Regions from separate parts of the Homo sapiens genome. Here regions 2 and 3 are each linked to region 1. The links are contacts of gene promoters, found by promoter capture Hi-C in blood cells and fetal thymus (Javierre and others, 2016). All regions are on one chromosome and are shown on one strand. The core of a region is centred on a gene start or on the middle of the fragment in contact, and the rest is flanking DNA. Distances in the headings are between cores, read along the strand shown.

What was found. The method cuts DNA at HindIII sites, captures the fragments that hold promoters and counts their contacts. A CHiCAGO score of 5 or more calls a contact.
Region 2: a fragment that was not itself captured here is called in contact with the fragment with the promoter of NEXMIF in region 1 in 3 of 17 cell types (erythroblasts, total CD4 T cells and endothelial precursors); the score reaches 7.1 in erythroblasts.
Region 3: a contact is called between a fragment that was not itself captured here and the fragment with the promoter of NEXMIF in region 1, in 1 of 17 cell types (erythroblasts). The highest score is 5.3, in erythroblasts.

Annotation. Positions count from the first base shown.
Region 1 is chrX:74,923,359-74,927,529 of GRCh38, reverse strand. NEXMIF (neurite extension and migration factor) reads left to right here and starts at 2,078. Exons shown (of 4, transcript NM_001008537.3): 1 at 2,078-2,647. RefSeq lists a silencer at 3,040-3,199. The HindIII fragment of the contact is 8,655 bases long and covers 1-3,593 here.
Region 2 is chrX:75,623,231-75,627,401 of GRCh38, reverse strand. LOC107985664 (a long non-coding RNA gene) reads right to left here. Exons shown (of 5, transcript XR_007068273.1): 3 at 2,514-2,701. Among named protein-coding and RNA genes, the nearest start is that of ZDHHC15, 100 kb to the right of the region's middle. The HindIII fragment of the contact is 824 bases long and covers 1,479-2,302 here.
Region 3 is chrX:75,600,964-75,605,134 of GRCh38, reverse strand. It overlaps LOC107985664 (a long non-coding RNA gene), which reads right to left. Exons shown (of 5, transcript XR_007068273.1): 2 at 113-217. Among named protein-coding and RNA genes, the nearest start is that of ZDHHC15, 80 kb to the right of the region's middle. The HindIII fragment of the contact is 4,979 bases long and covers 1-4,171 here.

The DNA.
Region 1 (4,171 bases), core at 829-3,328:
AATTTTTGGGGAAATGCAAATCAGCCCATAACACCCATGGTGTGTGTTCTCCCTCACTCTAACAAGTAGTAAACCCAAATTGTTCAACTACAGTTGTGTTTCTGGTAGTTTTTGGCTGGAGGGCATTGACAAAAATTATAACTGGTAACAAATAAGCAACTAACTTTATAAAGGAAGAATAGCATATGTAGTTAATACAGGTGAAAACAATGTGCTTTCCGACAACGGAAAAAGAGCAATTCATTCTGGATATTGAGATCCAGCCAATAGATGGGTGGCATTTTACATGTTTAACCTTTTTTGTTTGTTTGTTTTTGCTTTTGAGAACAGAGGCCAAATTTTGTCTTCTTATTTATTCCAGTGCCTGAAAGATGCAAATATATTTGCACAGTGTCTCACAAATGCAAGATAAATAACATATCATCCCTATCCTCAGGACACATATACCTAACTTCCTTGTGACTCGATTTTCTCATTTGTAAAATGGAGATAGTAAAATTGTGTTTGTTGTGAAGATTAAATAATTCATGTAAATTGCTTAGCACAGTGTCTGGCACATAGTAAGGACCCAATAAGTATAATTATTTCAGGATGAGCTATTATTTATGGATGAGTTTCATAGATATAAAATGAGAGGGAGAAATAACAAGAGTGTTTCAAGCAAGTGGGATGACAGAAACAAAGGCACAGAGATGGGGAGTTGTAAAAGCCATACAGACAGTTTATTGTCCAGGAATGAAAGACCCATGGTAGAGCGCCTCAAACTTGGTAAAGTGACCCAGACCTTATTGTCAATGGGATATCTGGAACATTTATCTCCTGTACTTTGCCAGGGAAAAGAAAATATACCCCCGCCTCTGCACTGTTTCTGGGGAGGGATTGTGTGACAGGTGATGGTGAGAAGTTGCACACATCAGATCTCAAAGCCTGAGCCCTCGTAGCAAAATGACGCTGTAGCTGTGGCAGCAAAGAAATCTGAAATGAGGCCCTGCCTGACTGGAGAAGCTGTGCTTTGGCAATGATGTTGGAGCAAGTGCACACAAAGTAGCTACTTTTACCCCTTCTGTTCTAGTACCAACCTTTTCATCTCTTGCCTTGGCTCCTAGTGGTGACAAATCTCCCGAGGCTCAGGCCTCAACCTTGCACCCAGGACTCCAGAAGTACTAAATGGTCCCTCCTGAGTTGCTCTCCAATCGTTTTGCTGTTTCCTGTTGAGTTCCCAGGACGTCTGAAGGAAAATGACCACCTAAGAGATTTTTCAATGACAGCCATCAGGCAGATCTGTTTTCCTTCCTGGCCATATTCAGCTTCCCTTCTTTCCTTTATTCCCCAAACGTCACTCCCCAATTGTCTGCCTTCATCCAACCCTTCAAAAAGGACCCACCTTCCTGGGGGCCCAGGCCCTTAAGTTAAGAGTAGGTAAAGGTTGAATGGTTAGATGCTTGGTGGATGAAACCATTCAAATATTCTTCCCCAAACTTCAGAGTGCCCCTCTCCGCACACACAACTGCCCTAAAAGGCATGGGAGAGTGGTGTCCGGTTGCGTGTCTGCCAGGGGAAGAACGCACCACTGGCGTAGTGGACTGGAAGGGCAGCAGGAACGCGAGTGGGGGGCGGGGTGGGAATGGGGAAGGGGGGTGCGCGCCCTTTATGACAGGTGGCCGCGCAGTGCGCGCTCCCGGGCGCCCGAGGGGAGGGAAGGACAGACGGACAGAGTTGGGGGGGCACATAAGGAAGGGACCATAGAGAGGGTAAGGAGAGCGGGAGGGAAAGGGAGAGCTGTGGTGGGGAAGAAGGGTAGAGGGGGGAAGGCGTCCAGCAAGAACAGCCGTGTTGGAGGAAACAATGGCAGGGGCAACAGCGATGGTGGCAGCAGAGGCGGCCCCACTCTGGGCACCTTTCTGAATGGGCAGAGACAGCTCCGGGAGAAGAGGGGACCAGGCAGTGCCTGCAGAGGCTCTGAGAAAAGCGGCAGAGGGAGGAGAAGAGGGAGGAGGAAGAGAAGGAGGAGGAGGAGTAGGAGGAGGAGGAGGAAGGGGGAGGAGGGGGGACGAGGCAGGGGAAGAACCTGGGAAGGAAAACCAGTAGCATCAGCAGCAGCAGCAGCAGCCGCCGCCGCCACCACCGCCGCCACAGCAGTAGCATTAGCGGCAGTAGCAGCATTTAGCAATAGCTTTAACAGCTATAGCGACAGTAGCAGCCGCCCTCCTCTCTCCCTCTCGCGGACGGCCGCAGCCACCGCACAGAGCGGGCTCCAGGCGCCGAGCGCGCAGCCCGCTCGCTAGGTAGCTCCAGCCGGGGCGAGCGACAGTGTAAGCGAAGCACGGACCCTTGGAGCAGCCGGGCAGCCGCGGAGGCTCTGAGTTTCAGGGCCAGAGCCCGACAGCTCTGACTCCATCTAGCGCGGCGGCGGCGGAGCCTGAGGGAGCGAGCGAGGAGAGAGGCGCGTCCACCTGGCGGGCCCAGCGTATGGAGCTGAGGCAGAGGCGGCGGCGGCGGCGGCAGCAGTAGCAGCGGCGGTGGCGGCTAAGGCAGCTCGAACAGCTGCGGCGACGGCGACAGCCCAGCCTTGACTGCGACCGCGCTAGCTACAGCGCCTGCTGCCTGAGCCCGCCAGCGACGTGCGCCTCGGGAGTCGGCCTGTGAGGTGAGTAGGAGCGCTGCCATACAGCTTCCTGGCCTTCTCGCCGGCTCCCCGGCTGGCTCGGGGTGGCGGCCGCAGGGGGTGGAATGAACTGGGGTAAGTCGAGCTAGACGAGAAGGAAGGGAAAACGGAACGGAGGACGTCTGTATGCGAATGTGTGTGTCTGTGTATGAGGGAGCGAGGCCGCTAGGGCGAGAGATCCCGGCTCGCCCTGACAGGCACTGCAATCTAGGAAAGGCCTCTGTGCTTGCGCCGTAGGAAGGGGGTTGCGGGGGGAGGGGAAGCGAGCGGACCGGAGCCGCCGCGCTTACACGCACGCAGCTCGGCAGAGTGCCGCCTCCTTTCGGACTGGTGCAGGGTAGAGCCTGGCCAGGGAATGGGGCATGGGCATGGCACGCTTCGGCGAGAGCGGGAAAACCCACGCGGCGGCCGAGGCCGGGCGCTCGGACCAAAGCCGCAAAGGTGCGAAGCCGGGCGGCCGTGGCGACCACAGAGCGCCCCCAGGACACGCGCCACTCGGCCGAGGCTGCGGACAGGTTTAAGTTGGAGGCCAGACCGAGCCTCGCCCAGCTCATCTCCTTTGCGGAAATTGGCTTGTGGCCCCTTCGCGCTCTCGGTGGCGGTCGAATTGACGCTTTTCTGTGTGGCTTCTGGCGCTTCTCTCTGCCGCGCCCCGCAGCACACGTCGGCTCGCGTCTTGTACACCCTGTAGGGCGGGAAGGCCGTGAGCCGGCGCGGGGAGCGGAGTCCCGCTCCGGGAAAGTGTGGAAACCGCGCTGCTGAGTTGGCGCCGTTCCGCTGAGGAATTCAGCGATTTCAGCATGACTGCTTCTGTCTGTCTGATTCGTGAGGGACCGAATCACCCGCGCAAGGTTTTCTGTCTTTTTCGAAGTTAAAAAAAAATTGGCATCCCCATTTCGACAACAGCACTCTTGATTTTTATCAAGCTTCTGGTTGCATTTTGGAATAAGTGGGTCTCATATTTTGCTTCTGGATCTTGGCTCCCAGCATATTGTTGAATGCTGTGCACAGCACTACATTTAGATATGTGGCCTTTTTCTAATGTTGCATTTTCTAGACTGTTATCTGAAAAGACATGATTTGTGTTGTAGGGCTGGCAGGGCTGTTTTTAAAAATGTCTAAAGCACTTTAATCCCGGGATTTGAATATATCCTTGGTTGTTTTTGGTGGAGGAGTTCCTGGAATATTTTGCTTGGTGAGAAAAGGTGCTGTAATGGTCTTCTCTGAACTCCTTACGACCATTTGTGTTTTGGAGGGGTGAATCTCCCTTACATCTTTTACACATGAGGTAACATATGACCAAACGTTTTATTTACAGCAGTGACGTTCTTATGGCTGAGGAGAATTTACACTTATTGAAAAAATATTTTTAGAAGGGAACAAAAAAGTCCTAAGTAACTGTCATTTTACATATTAACTGGGAAACCGGCTAATCAAATAAAACTGGCTGAGTGTCTGAAACTCTATCCCAGTGAAATATGTGGCTGTGAATATAATTAACCATCT
Region 2 (4,171 bases), core at 641-3,140, 700 kb before region 1:
CAGAAGAGAGAACAAAGAAATAAACCCAAATACTTATAGCCAACTGATGTTTGACAAAGGAAACAAAAATATAAGGACGCCCTTTTCAACTAATGGTGCTGGGATACTTGGCTAGCCACATGTAGGAGAATGAAACTGCATCCTTATCTATCACCTTATAGAAAAATCAACTCAAGATGGATTAAGAACTTAAACCTAAGACCTGAAGCTATAAATATTTTAGAAGATAACACTGGAAAAACCTTTCTAGGTATTGGCTTAAGCAAGGATTTCATGACCAGGAATCCAAAGGAAATGCAATAAAAACAAAGATAAATAGTTGGGACCTAATTAAACTAAAGAGCTTTTGCACAGCAAAAGGAACAGTCAGCAGAGTAAACAAACAGCCCACAAAGTGGGAGGAAATCTTCACAATCTATACATCTGACAAAGGCCCAATATCCAGAATCTACAATGAAGTCAAACAAATCAGCAAGAAAAAAACAAACGATCTCATCAAAAAGTGGGCTAAGGACATGAATAGATAATAATCAAAAGAAGATATACTAATGGCCACCAAACATATAAAAAATGCTCAACATCACTGAAGATCAGGGAAATGCAAATCAAAACCACAATGTGATACCACTTTACTCCTGCAAGAATGGCCATAATCAAAAAATAAAAAAAAGAGTAGATGTTGGCATTGATATAGTGATCAAGGAACACTTCTACACTGCTGGTGGGAATGTCAACTAGTACAGTCACTATGGAAAACAGTGTGAAGATTCCTTATAGAACAAAAAGTAGAACTACCATTTGATCCAGCAATCCCACTACTGGGTATCTACCCAGAGGAAAATAAGTCATTATTCGAAAAAGATACTTGCACACCCATGTTTATAGCAGCACAATTCTCAATTGTAAAATCGTGGAAACAACCCCAATGCCCATCAATCAATGAGTGGATAAAGAAAATTGTGGCATATATATATAATACTCAGCCATAAATAGGAATGAATTATGAATTAACAGCATTTGCAGTGACCTGGATGAGATTAGAGACTATAGTTCTAAGTGAAGTAACTCAGGATTAAAAAACCAAACATCATACATTCTCACTGATATGTGGGAGCTAAGCTATGAGGACGCAAAGGTATAAGAATGATGCCATGGACTTTGGGGACTTAGGGGAAGGGTGGGAATGGTGTGAGGGATAAAAGACTACAAATATGGTGCAGTGTATACTGCTCCAGTGATGGGTGCACCAAAATCTCACAAATCACCACTAAAGAACTTACTCATGTAACCAAACAAGACCTGTACCCCAATAACATATAAAAAAAAATTAAAAAATTAAAATTAATAAAACAAAACAAACAATAAAACAAAAACAAAAAAGCAAAAAGAGAAACAAAACAAAACAAAAAGCCTAACACGGTCATGTAACAAACAGAACACTTGTTTGGAAAAAATGTAGAAATTTTATGAAATAAGCTTCAAGTTCTACCAAGGAAAACAGGAATATAGTAATACAAAGTGTTGTTTCTCCCATACCTATCCCCCGTCGTTCCCCTTCTTGTTAATGGCACCAATACCTTTCAGCATTGACTGTGAAATCACTCTCACCATCTCACAATCCAGTAAGAAAATCATATAGACCATAAGTCTGTAATGTCTCACTGGCTAATACTTCCACATTATCATGTCTTACCTAGAATTTTAAAAAGTATTTCACCTACTTAGCACTTCTTACTCCCTCCAATGCATCTTTTAAAATATATCATTCTCAAACTGATATTTTTAAACCACAGATCTAAGTTATAATGTATCTTTCACTCTCTTGCCCACAACCCTTTGACAAAGAGATAAAGCAGAAAATATCTCTGCTGAGCACACATTGGCCACCAGGTTCTGATTCCCATCTATTCTTTCAAGCACAAAACACAGCTCCACACCATTCATGCTCCTTATGAATGACTATGACTTATTTCCCTGAAAACGGCCCCTGAGTCACACAATGAAGCCTCTGATTGGAAATTCTCTTACTCCACTCAATTATCATGTGATTAACATGGCCTATCTTCTTTCCTACTATGACATCAGAATTCATTTTCTTGAGCTTTAGTGCTTTTTGTGGCCTTTGTATAGATTCTTCCCTGGTGCCCCAGGTTCTGGCACATAGAAGCTGGACATTTATCCCTGCAGTCTCTGAGAGATAAGAATGTAGGAGGCAGCAAGTCCTGGGTGAGAGAGGAAGCTGGATTAAGTACCACTAGGAATAAATGCAGAGGGAAAAGCAGATCACTGGCTGGGAGAAGCTTTTGGTCTTCCTAGAGATATGTGAACAATCACTCTTTTACAGACATAAGAATGAATATTATCTCTTTTCCAGGTACCTTACCCTCACTAAACTTGGTTGGGGGAAGTCTTCACATTGCAACATACACAGTTTTGGTCTTTTTAGAGATATGTGAACAATCATTCTTTTACAAACATAAGAATGAATATGATCACTTTTCCTGGCACCTTACCCTCACTAAACTCGGTGGAGAGAAGTCCTCCCATTGCAACACACACAGAAGATGTAGTCTCCATCCGACTCTCTTAGTCTGACATTGAGGGTCTGGCTTCAGACAGAATGACAGTTTTGCCCCAGAGACCTTGCATATGGAAGAGCTGTATGTGGTAATTAAACTTCTTCCTCCACTCCCTCCAGCATCTGTGACAACAAACAAGAGGATAGATATATTAGACCACAAAGCTTCACAAAGAAAAATGTTTGTACATGTCTGTACATCTGACATCCGACACCCCTCATAATGAACCTGTCTTATGGGTTCTGCCACACAACCAGGCCTGATTATAAACCACAGCCTGACCAGCACCAACAATGGCAGAGGCATGAACCCCAATTATGCTGCCAGGGCTATACCACTCTATACCCCAGCTCCACCACTGGGGTCTGTATGGTATGGAAGCATGGAAGCCCCAACACCCAACATAAAGATTCATCAATTTCCTTCAACACCCAGACTGAACATAAGCACTGTAGCCCCACCCAATCTTTATTTGAAATGGTTTCTGCACCTTGTCTTTTATACACAACCTTGATCAGATCCAGCTGTTTCCTGAATACGACAATAGCCAGGATAAAGTCCTGAAACCTGACTCTGCATCTGTCTCAATTCAAAACAGGAAGATGTAACTAGTCCTGTAAGTAATTGGCTCCTGTCCCTGTAATATATCACGTTCAGTTGTAATCCCCAATGATGGAGGTGGGAAGGTGACTAGATCATGGGGGTAGATTTCTCACAGTGGTTTAGCACCATCACCTTGGTGCTGTTCTCATGATAGTGAGTCAGTTCTCCTGAAATCTAGTTGTTTAAAAGTGTGTAGCACCTCCCTCGCCCTCTTACTCCTGCTCCTGCCATGTAAGACGTGCCTGCTTCCCCTTCACCTTCCACATGATCATAAGTTTCCTGAGGCTTCCTCAGAAGCCAAGCAGATGCCAGCACCAAGCTTCCTGCACAGCCTGCAGAACCATGAGCCAATTAAACCTCTATTCTTTATAAATTACCCAGTCTTAGGTATTTCTTTATAGTAATGTGAGAATGGCCTAAGACACCCTGTCAATCTGCACCTGGGCAGTGTCTTCATAATTCAAGGTGCAGTACAGCAATTCTGACACTGGAGGCTGCGTTGCCTAACAAATAATCACAAGAGCCAGAATTATTCAGGAAATATCTGAGACTGGCCTTTATCTCTAAGAGACAATGGAAAGAAGATTTCCAATAAATATTACAGTTAGTGGCATAGAGGTTTTCCCTCTTTCTCCTCTACATCCTGGTTTATTCCCTGTGTTGATGCCTCCAGATCTACTCCCAGTCACTGGACACAGTCATACACAAACGCATAATGCACAGCAATCCACCTCTGTACAGTCTGACTGACAATATTTTCAACAAATGCTGTATTTTTCTGAACATAACCCCATCATACATAGAAAAGCAACTGAAAGTTGAGAAACTGTAAGTTGAGTCATCATAAGTCAAGGACATCTGTCTATTCTACTTTTATGATGCCTGTCATGGCAAATCAAGTAGCCTCCTAATTTCTCTTCCCTGTTCCACTTTCTGATTCTCTCAAAAATCCATCCTCAACACCGTAAAGAGATGGCTCATCAATCCAT
Region 3 (4,171 bases), core at 639-3,138, 680 kb before region 1:
TACCAGATTGAGAGGACTTAGATTCAGGAAAGATGGAGAAGAAAGAAGGAAATAGTGAAAACAGGAAAAAATAAAAAAGGAAGTGGGGAGGGCAATCCCACTTGCTACTCACCTGTGTCCTAGAACTGTTACCTCTTAGGAAATTTTCAGGCAGGGTCAGAAGCCATCAGTCGTTTGAGTAACAAGATGATAAAATCTGTGCATGAACACATTCAATCTGCAAGAAATATATTGACAAAATTGTAACTAGTCATTATTTACTTTAATTGTTCCATGCCAAAATAATTAGAGATTGAAAGCAGAACAAAAGTCACAGTAGACCTACCCCATTATACTCTTTTCATTTACACTTTCAATTTAATTCCCATGATGTGTAGCTCATGGCTGCCTGCCATTCCTGGCTTCTTGAGGCTAGTGCCAAAAGATAGGCCAGTCTCCCTTGAAAGTGTATAAGGGAGGACCGCGCACTGAATTGACACACTCAGTGTGTGTTTAAGGTTGAGACTAAAGACTTTTGGTTGAGAATTATGGCTATCCCCTGGAAAAGTAAGGGCAGCCCTGAGGACTAAGACATCCAGGCTTCTACATGATAGGGGTGGTGCTTTGCACAACTGGGACTGGATCTTGACTTGGCATCTTCTTGTGCTTTCACATCCTAACAAGGCTTCAACTGGAAGGCAACTATCCTGGCCTTGAAGGATAGGCAAAGGATGACAAAGAGGGGCAGTTCATAAATTCAGTAGTTCCTGCCATAGACCACCTATGAAAAGTAACCCTCAAAACTCATTAAGGTGTTATTCTTAGTCCATGGCATTGTAGATATGGCAAAGCTGAAGGCAGTTTCTTGAAAGAAGATACTATTTTTATACCTGACATTTATATGAATTAGCCTCACAAGGCAAAAAAAAGACACCAGGTCCACCCTCCACAGCCTCTCCTAATAAGCAGACTTTACCAGTGTATTTCTGGTGAGAGTGTACCTGGTCATCTATATCAATTTTGACAAAGAAGAAAAACTGTCTCAGCAATGTGATCTTTGCAATTGGTCTTTTTTAAGCCCTCATCAAGAAATCTTGTCTAGCAGATTGTGATACTGTCATATAGACACTAGGGGCACTGTTGCCTAAGAAATACAGATACTGGCAGACCAGCCCTAGGGAAAATTTCTGCAAAGAAAACTCTTTCTGCAGAAAGAAATGTAGTGGTCATTTCAAACAGAAATTACAGAAATGGGAGGGTATTTCTTCTATCTTTTTGTACTATGTTCCTCTCTCTGTCCTCTCATTTTCTCAGAATTAGAAATCCTCCTTTCTCGACATACACATGCATACACATACAAACACACACAAACACACACACACACACACTTCAGTCAAATCCTGGAAAACCTATCTTCACTGGCACATCTAAATGCTAATCCCTTTTATCTACTTGCTCTCAGTGCTCGCTAGTTCTTTTTTACCCTGTTTTGATCTCTCTGGCCCCTGAATCTAGATTTCTTCTTCTCAGTGCTTCCAAATGTCTCTATCTAAAACTCAAATTTAATCTCTTAGCATTTCCCTGCATAGAAACCTCGAATAATACAGGATGCTCCATCTCATACATCAAGGGCTGGCAAAATATTTCTGCAAAGGGCCAAATAGTAGTTATCTTAGCCTCTGTGGGCCATATGGTCTCTACTGCAACAATTCAATTCTGCAGTCATCACACAAAAGCAGCCACAGACAATACATAAGTGAATGGATGGCTGTATTCCAATAAATTTTTATTTACAAAAACTGGTAATAGGCTAGCTTTGACCAGCTGCCTGTAGTTTCCTTGACTTAGTATTATCAAGCATAGCCTCCCTTCAGCGAAACTTGCTCCCTATTCCTGGTTTTTGATATTTCTCTAGCATGAAGACAAGACATCCTCATTCCACATACCCATGAACTAATTCATATAGAAAGCCTGCTCTGTTTATCCCAGCAGTCCATCAGCCCCACTCACTTTCTGACTCTGAAATATGCAAGCATAGAGTTCCATAGTAGGATAAACTAGTAGGAATACTCACCAAGCACCACATAAAATACTTACAATAGAGGCAGAGATATGAGGACTACTAAGAGATTTCCTACCAAGTCACTGTGAGGGCAGTGTTAATGAGACAGGAGTATTTAATCATAGGCAAAATAACAATAATAGTAGGTAACACAGAAAGAAGAAATGATTGAAGGGAAGTAGTAAAGGCAGAGAAAGCTACTAGGAGATTTTCTGTTTCTACTCACCTTCGTTCAAGGATCTTTGGCCTCTTATGAGGTAGCAAAGCATAATATTGAAGAGCCTTGGCCACGGAGTCAGGCTACCTAAGTTCTCAATATTGGCTCAATCACTTACTTTCTATATGAATTGTAGGCAAGTCTGTGTCTTAATTACTACATCTCCAAACAGGGAATGATAATGGTATAACCTCTGAGAGTTTTTAACATGATTAAACAAACGGTGCACAGAAAGCAGTTAAAGCAGGGCCTCAGCCAAGATGGCCAAATAGGAACAGCTACCAACATGAGAAACACAAAAAACAAATGATTTCTGCATTTCCAACTGAGGTACCAGGATCATCTCACTGCGGATTGTCAGAAAGTGGGTGTAGGACAATGGGTGTAGCACAGTGAGTGTGAGCCGAAGCAGGGAGAGGCATCGCTTCACCTGGGAAGTGCAAGGGGTCAGGGAATTCTCTTTCCTAGCCAAGGAAAGGGGTGACAGACGGCACCTGGAAAATCGGGTCACTTCCACCCAAATACTGCGCTTTTCTCACAGTCTTACCAAATGGCACATCAGGAGATTATATCCCGTGCCTGGCTCGGAGGGTCCCACGCCCACGGAGCCTCACTCATTGCTGGCACAGCAGTCTGAGATCAAACTGCAAGGCCGCAGCGAGGCTGGGGGAGGGGCGCCCGCCATTGCCAAGGCTTGAGTAGGTAAACAAAGTGGCCAGGAAGATCGAACTGGGTGGAGCCCACCCCAGGTCAAGGAGGCCTGCCTGCCTCTGTAGACTCCACCTCTGGGGGCAGGGCATAGCCAAACAAAAGGCAGCACAAGCCTCTGCAGACTTAAATGTCCCTGTCTGACAGCTTTGAAGACAGTAATCGTTCTCCCAGCATGCAGCTGGAGATCTGAGAACGGACAGACTGCCTCCTCAAGTGGGTCCCTGACCCCCGAGTAGCCTAACTGGGAGCCACCAACCAGTAGGGGCAGACTGACACCTCACAAGGCCAGGTACTCCTCTGAGACAAAACATCCAGATGAAGAATCAGGCAGCAACCTTTGCGGTTCACCAATATGAGCTGTTCTGCAGGCTCCGCTGAGGATATCCAGGCAAACAGGGTCTGAAATGGACTTCCGGCAAACTCCAACAAACCTGCAGCTGAGGGTCCTCACTGTTAGAAGAAAAACTAACAAACAGAAAGGACATCCCCACCAAAACCCCATCTGTACGTCACCATCATCAAAGACCAAAGGTAAATAAAACCACAACGATGGGGAAAAAACAGAGGAAAAAAAATGAAAATTCTAAAAATCAGAGTGCCTCTCCTCCTCCAAAGGAATGCAGCTCCGAACCAGCAATGAACACAGGTGGATGGAGAATGACTTTGACGAGTTGAGAGAAGAAGGCTTCAGACGATCAAACTACTCTGAGCTAAAGAAGGAAGTTGAATCCATGACAAAGAAGTTAAAAACCTTGAAAAAAGATTAGACAAATGTCTAACTAGAATAACCAATGCAGAGAAGCCCTTAAAGGACCTGATGGAGCTGAAAACCATGGCACGAGAACTACGTGATGAATGCACAAGCCTCAGTAACCGATGTGATCAACTGGAAGAAAGGGTATCAGTGAAGGAAGATCAAATGAATGAAATGAAGCGAGAAGAGAAGTTTAGAGAAAAAAGAATAAAAAGAAATGAACAAAGCCTCCAAGAAATATGGGACTATGTGAAAAGACCAAATCTACGTCTGACTGGTGTACCTGAAAGTGACGGTGAGAATGGAAACAAGTTGGAAAACACTCTGCAGGATATTATCCAGGAGAACTTCCCCAATCTAGCAAGGCAGGCCAACATTCAGATTCAGGAAATACAGAGAATGTCACAAAGATACTCCTCGAGAAGAGCAACTCCAAGACACATAATGG